2 separate regions of the Homo sapiens genome follow, and region 1 is linked to region 2. Evidence: promoter capture Hi-C in human tissues and cell types (Jung and others, 2019). All regions are on one chromosome and are shown on one strand. Each heading gives the region's core, a stretch centred on a gene start or on the middle of the fragment in contact. The rest is flanking DNA. Distances are from core to core; before and after follow the strand shown.

Evidence for each region. The method cuts DNA at HindIII sites, captures the fragments that hold promoters and counts their contacts. A contact is called where the count stands out against the background at its distance.
Region 1: a contact is called between the fragment with the promoter of CLSPN here and the fragment with the promoter of ZMYM4 in region 2, in 2 of the 25 tissues and cell types used here (mesenchymal stem cells and small bowel).

What each region holds. Positions count from the first base shown.
Region 1 is chr1:35,768,251-35,772,779 of GRCh38, reverse strand. CLSPN (claspin) reads left to right here and starts at 2,802. Exons shown (of 25, transcript NM_022111.4): 1 at 2,802-2,933. The coding sequence starts at 2,910. CLSPN-DT (CLSPN divergent transcript) reads right to left here and starts at 2,685. Exons shown (of 3, transcript NR_199050.1): 1 at 2,532-2,685. RefSeq lists a silencer at 2,960-3,189. The HindIII fragment of the contact is 25,943 bases long and covers 1-4,529 here.
Region 2 is chr1:35,267,007-35,271,755 of GRCh38, reverse strand. It overlaps ZMYM4 (zinc finger MYM-type containing 4), which reads right to left and starts at 3,047. Exons shown (of 30, transcript NM_005095.3): 1 at 2,671-3,047. The coding sequence starts at 2,709. RefSeq lists silencers at 2,528-2,657, 2,728-3,087 and enhancers at 3,218-3,277, 3,298-3,357. The HindIII fragment of the contact is 5,206 bases long and covers 1-3,800 here.

The DNA.
Region 1 (4,529 bases), core at 1,553-4,052, 500 kb before region 2:
GCTGGGCATGGTGGTGCACACCTGTAGTCCCAGCCACTTGGGAGGCTGAGGTGGAAGGGTTGCTTGAGCCTGGGAGGTTGAGGCTGCAGTGAGCTGTGATCATGCCACTGCACTCAGGGAGAAAAAGAAAAAAAGGAAAGAAAGAAGTATACATCTCTGGACCCCACTTCAGACATACTGAATCAGAAACTTTGGCACTAGGACCCAACAATAGCTGTTTTTACCAGCCTTTCAGATTATTCTGATGCATGCTCAAGTTTAAGAAAGACAATTCTAGGTTGCAATGATACAGAGGCCAAGAAAACAAAACGCCTGTTCTCTTGGAGCAACAACAGACAAATAGATATAAATAAAATTTCAGGCAAAGGAAAGTGTTATCAGGGAAACCAGCATAGGATAAGGAGGCAGAACACAGAGGATGCTCAGGCAGGGTCTTTCTGAGGGGTATGAGCTCTGAAGTCACATAGAGTCTGAAAATTGGCTCCACCAGTTTCTAGCCTTTTAAAAGTCTGGTTTCCTCATCTTCTAAGAAAGAGATAATAATATTACAAGTTTACTCTGAAGATTAAATAAGATAACACTTATAAAATCCTTGCAACTGTTTCTGCCACTGAGTAAGGCTTCAATAAACGTTAGCCCTCCATATATGATGGGGAGTGCCATAGATGTATACCTGGGAATCGTTGATGTAGAAATTAATAGTAAATGGATGAAAAGGTGGATAAACCAAGACACAAAAAGAGAAGAGGATGGATGATGGGCTCTTGTTGGTGGGGACAGAAGTGGATTGAGAGATGGTGGGGAAGTAAAGAAATGAAGATGTGGAGAGGGAGCTTTTTTCTGAACCCAGCTAAAGGTGGAAACTTGGAAGAGGAGGCCAGTGGATTGGGTGAAGAACCAACCATTTGGTATACCTGTGACTGAGGAGGTTCTCAGGATGCAGGACTTTTAGTGCTAAAACTAGGAAAGTCCTGGGCAAGCTGGGCCAAGCTGGCCACACTGGCAGTGGATATGACCATGGAGGGTGAAGTGAGCAATAAATACTCTGACCTTTCTTTCCTGGTGGCCTCTCATCTCCTTACAGTAACCTTATAAGGTGTCTTTACAGGGGCCTGACCCAACCAGAAGGGCAAGGGAGCTGGGATAATACAGTCTAGAGAGGTCAGCCTTGCCTTGACACACACCAGGGTAAAGGAAGGACAGAGAATTGACCTGGAGAGGCAAAAAATAATGGCCAGCACAGTGGCAAAACTGGGATTAGAATTGTCTGGGATAGGCCAGGTGCGGTGACTCACACCTGTAATCCCAGCACTTTGGGAGGCTGAGACGGGCGGATCACGAGGTCAGGAGTTCAAGATCAGCCTGGCCAAAATGGTGAAATCTTGTCTCTACTAAAGTTACAAAAAATTATCTGAGCGTGGTGGCACATGCCTATAATCCTAGCTACTCAGGAGGCTGAGGCAGGAGAATCGCTTGAACCCGGGAGGCGGAGGTTGCAGTGAGCCGAGATCACGCCATTGCACCCAGCCATGGTGACAGGGAGAGACTCTGTCTCAACAAAAAAAAAAAAAAAAAAAAAAGAACTGTGTCTGGGATAAACCTGATTTCAGAGCTTCAATTCTTTTTCCAGCCTTGTTTAAAGGTAGAATGCCCTCTAGGAGTGATGAGTGCTTTCTACATCCTCAAATTAACTCTACAGAGAATTATAAAGATTATCCAACCATATTCTTTGGTATCTGAGCAGCCCACAAAACTTTTTTCTTTAGAGACAAGGTCTCCCTCTATCGCCTACGCTGAAGTGCAGTGGTGCGATCATAACTCACTCTAACCTCAAACTCCTGGACTCAAGCCATCCTCCCACCTCGGCCTCCCAAAGCGTTGAGATTACAAGCGTGAGCCATGGAGCCCGGCCCTCTTTAAAAAATAAAAGTGGGCCGGGCACAGTGGCTCACGCCTGTGAGGGGTATGAGGCCTCCCAGCACTTTGGGAGGCCGAGGCGAGGATCATTTGAGATCAGGAGTTCGAGACCAGCCTGGCCAACATGGTGAAACCCCGTCTCTACTAAAAATACAAAAATTAGCCAGGGGTTGGTGGCGGGTGCCTGTAATCCTAGCTACTCAGGAGGCTGAGGCACGAGAATCGCTTGAACCCGGGAGGCGGAGGTTGCAGTGAGCCGAGATCGCGCCACTGCATTTCATCCTGGCTAACAGAGGGAGACTCCATCTCAAAAAAAAAAAAAGTGTGTGTGTATACACATACATGTGTATGTGTATATATGTGTATGTATATATGTGTGTACATATGTGTGTGTGTGTGTATATATATATATATATATATATATATATATATATATATATATTCAGTGGTAAGTGTCATGTACAAGAGGCACACAGGATCTAGCTGCTCCAGAAATGAAGTCAGTGGAGAAAATCCCCACGGGAACCTTGGAATTCCTCTAAAAAGTTCAGGTACAGGACACTCCCAGGTGCCCAGGAACCGTTTCCCAGCTCACTTCCCCCCGAAAGACTCACCCCTCCAATCGCACTCGATGCTTTGGCAAGTGTCAAAGGTCAAAGACCACGGCTCGCCTGGTACCGACTGCCCCGCCCCCGTGCACCTCCAGCTCCCCCAGGCTCCGCTACCAGCAGCTGCGACCCGCCAACTCAGCCTGGGTAATAGGAGATTGGGCGGCCAGAGGCGCTGCGTGATTGGTGGGTCGGAAGGGGGCGGGGACTCGCTGGAAAGCCCCCTCTGGATTGGTGCAAACCATCTGGGTGGGACCTCCACTCTGGCTGGGCGGGAAAGCAAGAACAGCACTGCTGGGCTGGAGACGGCGGGAGCCGCTGCTCTCCGGCTGAGGGAATCAGAGACAGCTCCGTCCCTAGTGGAGCGCAGGGGAGGCAGAAGTCATGACAGGCGAGGTGGGTTCTGAGGTGAGTTTATGCACACGCCCCCCACGGGGGCTTAGAAGGCCGGGCACCGAGAGGTTAGGTGGGGCCGGGGTAGACCCCGCTGACCCGAGGCGCCCGGGCGGGAGGACTGCGGCTCCCGGCGTTCGCCGCGCCGGCTCCCGCGGCCTCGAGACTCGGCCGGGATGGGTTCCGACCGGGCATCCCGTCCCGCCGCCGGGCTTCCCGCGCTTCGGGCTCCGTGGCCGGAGAGCTCCAGGTCTCTGCGGCGCGCACTGCCGGCAGCCCAGCCCCTCTTCAGCCGGTTCCTGCCGCCAGCCCTCCCCTTTGGCGCGTTTCCTGTCGCGGAAGCTCCTCCCCTCAGGGTGCTCTGAAAGCCGGGAGGCTCTAGCCGAACCCGGCCGCAGCGGTGCGGGGGGATTCTCCGCAGAGAGAGGGCGAGCGAGGGTGTTAGGGAGTTCCACACTGGGCCTGGGAGGGGCCCTGGAGGTCATCGCGCGCAGGCCCTTTGCGTTTTCCGACCGGGCCCCGAGTGGGGAAGTCACCGCTGGGGCTCCTGGCTGGTGGCTGGCAGCTCCCTGGCGAAATTGGGCATAGAAAACAGATGTTTCCAGAGCTGTGTCCTTTCTGGGCCGGATTCGGGCAAGGCACTCCCGCCTTAGGAGCAAAATTTAAAGGGGCGCCAAAACCCTCAATCAAACTCATATTTTAATGCAATATTTTTAAAAAACCAAAATTAATGCAAAAACTTTTTATGATTTGATATTGAACAAAATATCAGACGTTTAAACAAAGACGAGATCCGACCAGTCATTTGCACGACCTTGCCTCAATCACCTCACCCTAATTCCATCCCTGTTTCCAATAAACTTTATTTACAAAAGCGGGCATATTATTTACCTCATGAGCTGTAGATTATTGATTTAATTTTTTAAAAAATATTGCATTAATGTTATTCATTTTGATTACTGAATTTTTTGAGACCTCACCCCACCCTGTTACTGGCCCTGCCCTTTGACGTTGCTGCAAATTGCCTAGAAGATAATCGTCATTCAAAGCAGCCCTATTCCTTGAGCTGTCTGGTTACCTAAATTCGGTTTCCACACTCACAAACAGAAGTAATAGTTTTACTGCTTTGGATTGTTGAGAGGATCATCAGTGCATACATATTAATTCTCAGCAATCCCAGCACTTCGGGAGGCTAAGGCCGGCAGATTGCTTGAGCTCAAGAGTTCGAAACCAGCCTGCATAGAAAACATGGCAAAACCCCGCCTCTACAAAAAAAAAAAAATTAGCCGGGCGTCGCCTGTGGTCCCAGCTACTCGGTCCCAGCTACTCGGGTGGCTGAGGTGAGAGAATCCTTTGGGCCTGGGAGGTCAAGGCTGCAGTGAGCCATGATCCTGCCACTGCACTCCAGCCTAGGTGACAGAGTGAGACACTGTATCAAAAAAAAAAAAAATTTGTACCTTGCATTCAAATCAATTTAATAATTTTTTTTTTTTTGAGACGGAGTCTCGCTCTGTTGCCCAGACTGGAGTGCAGTGGCACAATCTCGGCTCACTGCAACTTCTGTCTCCTGGATTCAAGCGATTCTCCTGCCCCAGCCTCCTGAGCAGCTGG
Region 2 (4,749 bases), core at 1,798-4,297:
CCTATACAAGTCCTGCGTATGTTATAGGTTGTTAAAAATAAAATTAACTTTTGGGCCAGGCCCGGTAGCTCACACCTGTAATCCCAGCACTTTGGGAAGCCGAGGTGTGCTGATCACCAGAGGTCAGGAGTTCGAGATCAGCCTGGCCAACATGGCAAAATCCCATCTTTACTAAAAATACAAAAATTAGCCAGGCATGGTGGTGCTTGCCTGTAATCCCAGCTACTTGGGAGGCTGAAGCAGGAGAATTAATTGAACCCGGGAGGCGGAGGTTGCAACGAGCCGAGATTGCGCCACCGCACTCTAGCCTGGGCAACAGAGCAAGACTCTGTCTCAAAAATAATAATAATAATAAAGTTTTTACTGCTACCAGTATGGTATCTTTTTTTTTTTTTCCAGCATTCCTTTAGCAGAAGATTCACAAGACCAGTAACATCTTTTAAGTGTACGACAAGAGGCAGAATATATTTAAAATCTAGTTGAATTTGTTGTCAACACACATCAATGTTTTCTAGAATATCCTAGAACATCCTAGTACAGAAGGTGAATGACAACATTCACAGCAACTGGATGCAGAAATCTCCCTGAATTAACATTACATATCTTAAGTAATTTACCCTGTATATTTTCATTGGTGGACTATATGCCATATGCCTTCATCCAAGCACAGTAAGGATCTAGTTCAAAACTGAACACAACTTGAAAATTTTAAAATTTCAAAACACATGCATTCCATACACAACATTTATACTTACAAAACTATTTGGACATACCATCATACAGCTTAACTTGCTCTATGACTAATTATTGCATTAGGTGAATCCAACATTTCGTAAACTTATCAATGGTAAAAATTTATTGTTCAAAACACTACGATGAAATGCATTAAAATAACACGACTGATGAACAGAAAGAGGGATAGAGGGGTAAATATATGATAAAACAAGTGGAATGCAATTTTTTTTTTGGAGGGGGTTTTGAGACAGTGCCTCCCTCTGTCACCTAGGCTAGAGTGCAGTAGCACGATCTCGGCTCACTGCTACCACCGCCTCCCTGCTACCACCGCCTCCCAGGTTCAAGCGATTCCCCTGCCTCAGCCTCCCGAATAGCTGGGATTACAGGCACCCGCCACCACGCCGGGTTAATTTTTTGTATTTTTAGTAGAGACGGGGTTTCACCATGTTGGCCAGGCTGGTCTCGAACTCCTGGCCTCAAGTGATCCTGCCGCCTCGGCCTCCCAAAGTGCTGGGATTACAGGCGTGAGCCGCTGTGCATGTCCGGAATGCAATGTTAACAGTAGGATCTAGGCGGTTGGGTGTATGACTGCTCCCCGTAAGTTTTATAATATTGACGGATAGTTCAAAATATTTTCCTAATAAATTGTTGGAAAAAATAATACTTGACACTTCTTTGGTCATTTACAATTTAAGCTTTTAAGGAGAGAAACACAGATTAAAGAAACTCCTCTGTGGCATCCCACACAGGCACTATAGTTGGGACAAACCTGGATTCAAATCCTACCTCAACCTTGCAACTAGCTGTGTGATCTAAGTAAATTACTTAAGCCCTCAACACCTAAATTTCCTCATCTGCAAATAGGTTCTAGGAGGAGTTACTATGAAGTTAAATTCTTCACATAAAGGTCTTAGCTCAGTGCCAGGCACACAGTAAGCACTCAAAACATCAGCTGTAGCATCATTACGAGATTACTAATTTTACGCTAAGCTGAAAGGGCATTCTTCATAAAGTAGTAATTTTTTGCCCTTTTGCTAATTGATCGTTTCTGAAACCATTCCCAAAAGGAAGACTCCTAAAAGGAAACTTACTTCTTATCATGCTAAGCGGGGAGGAAGTAAAAGAAAAGTGAGGGATATTGCTCAATCGATAGTACAGTATTGTTCGCCATCTGAAAAAAACCACTCAGAATTAAATAAGGAAAGTTTCCAGACAAACTTTAAAAGGTATTCAAACAACTCCTATGTAGAATTGGCTTCACCTCTGCAGGTTGATTGGGTACATCCCTGTTATGAGAAAACTTGTCGTATTCTTCCAAGTCCCTAATTGCGAGTAAGAGGCTAGGCTAGAACATGACATTCATAGTAGCCAAAATCTTTCTCCTAAATCAGGACATGCCAACGATCCCACTTCTTCACAGGTAAGACCACCACCCCGACTTTGGTCTAGATAACGGCTATGGGGGGAGGGGAAAGGAGGCAGGAAAATGAATTCGCGATGGTGTTACTGAAGAACCCTCCGGTTATTTCTCCTGAGACCCCTCCACGACTTATTCCCGCCACCACCACCCCCACCTGACCTCTCCCCAGTTAACTTCCAGACTCTGATGTACTAAAGATGCACTAAAGATGCACTTAAGAATCTGACACCTCCCCTCCCTGGGCCTAGATATCCCACCCCAGTGCTGGGGAACGTCGGGGGGAGGAAGGCAAACAACGGCCCCCTCCCCTCCCCCCCACCCAGCACCAAATCTTTGTCCCACCTGCCGAGGGACCGCTCGCCAGCGCGCTCCGGACCCAAGGCTGCCTCAGACCTGCCCGCAACCTTGTCCTAACTGGGCCTCGGCGACCCCTCCACGAACCTGAGTATGGCCCATTCCCGGCCCCGGGCCGCGCCCCGCCCCCCGCCGCCCGAGTTCTGCCTCACCTCACCTACCCTCTTTCGGGGGCCGGACTCCACCTCTCTCTCCGCCATGTTGGGCCCCGCTCGGAACCGCTGCGGCTCCCCGCGCGGTGGCGGCGGTACCTCTCGGCCCCCCGGCCCCCGCCCACACTGCAGGCACGGCCGCCTCGCGGCAGCTTCCCCGGACCCGGCCGGGCCTTGCGCCGAGAGTGGGGAGGGGGCGGATGCCGCGCGCCGGGCCGCAGCTTCTGAGATCCCACGGGTCCGCGCGTGGGCGGGAGGGCCTGCCCGGGGACGGGGTGGGGGCCGGGACTCGGGGGGTTAATGGCCTCCAAGGGGCCCCGTGAGTAGGATTATTTTCTCTCAGAGAAATTCCTCCGCCTGCGGTTTCTTAAAGGGATCACCAAATCAGCCCCTTGCGCGCGCCCCTGATGCGCAGGCGCACCCTAAGTCCCTCCTTCCTTTCCCACCAAGCCCCCGGTCCTGAGCGTGCGCGGTAAGTGGCCATGGGTAGGCCAAATCCTGCAAGTCTCTTTGCTGCCAGCAGCTGCTCCCACCACTCAACTATGGCCGCTCCCTTAAAGGGACCATGACGCAGGGATGAAGGAGAAATGAAAGAAATTACTGGAAAGACAATCTGGAGAATTGGGTGCAATGTCAGTGAAGGGTTCCACATCACCATCTTACACCTGACTACAGTGGTACCATTGAAGAGGGAAAGTCATGGTAAGCTGAAGTTCTCAGTGGACCTCTGAACATGAAGAATCCCAAACCAATGAGGGAACAAGACAGTCATCTCAAGGAAAACCAACTTTCCTCCCTTTCGACTGCCTGTTCTGAAGCACAAGGCATAGAATATCAAGAGCCAACTCCTATAACCTCACCTTAAAATCAAAGCTTTTGGTGATTTTGAAGATTGAACCAACAACTGGAAATAATTTCTTCAATAGTAATTTATCCTTAGAACATCAAAATGGAGAAGGATCTTAGGGAACCATTTACTCCAGTGCTCCCAATGATAAAATTGCAGCCTGATCATGGGAAGGAATTTGTCCCAATGTAACTAATGGCTGGTGTGGAGTTGGAATCAAGATTACAGTCTCAGTCCTCCAGGCTGTCTTCAGGCGAGAGATAAATTTGGTTTAATTTGATATCCCTAGAAGATTAAAAATTGAAGTTTCATGGTATTTGGAGAATATCATAATTCTCTTGTGAAGATGTAATGATTTGCAGATGATGGGTGTCCTCATTCACCTCTATTGAAGGAGCTTGACAATCTGCCTTAAAGGATAAGCATCTTATTTCTAAGCAGGAAACCAGGAAGTAGATTTGGGTCTATCTTGTTCCAAAACTGGGTCCTAAGCTGAAAATCGCTGAAAAGAATGAGGGCTTCATTCATTCCTCTTCTGTTCATTCTAGTTCCCACAAGCTTTGGGTGCAGAAAAAATTAAGTTTATAATGATAGTTCAGGGACAGTGGGGAGACATATAGTAAGAAATACAAAGAAGATGCCTCCTGAAGGTCATTTCCCATGACAAGACATATTCAAGTGGGAATGATAACTCCTGAAGTCACAGGATAATGAGATGTAACTTCTGTTTTCTGTTTTATTTAGCACTTGGTAGCTATTCTGAAACAGATGTTTTCTAATCTGTAATATTTTGCTGAAAACTTTTGGTGAAATTGCTGGAAGTTTCCATACTGGCCTTGCTTATGCCTTTAGCACTGTCTTTAATTTCACTCCTCGGTAGGAGAGAAGAAAGAAGGACAAAGAAATATGTTCATTTCAGCCAGAATTTTAAAAACATGTTCCCTTTAGTTCCATGTCCAGGACAAGAAAGAAAAGAGGAGCCAAGAAAAGATAATTCCAGGGAATGTGGCTACATAAAACTTGTAGTGGTTTCCACCTGTTTTATTGGCAGTGGAATACTCCCTTCTAATAAAATCTGGTGGTTTAAAATGTGGAGCTGCTAAGTTGGGAGTGTAAGTGGGGAACCCACTAGTCTATTCACCCAGCTTCACCCTTGCACTCTCTCTCCTTTCATGCCCCCTCCCATCATTACAGAAATGTTGAGTTTCTCAGATCACAGTTTAAACTTATTAGTTTAGTCT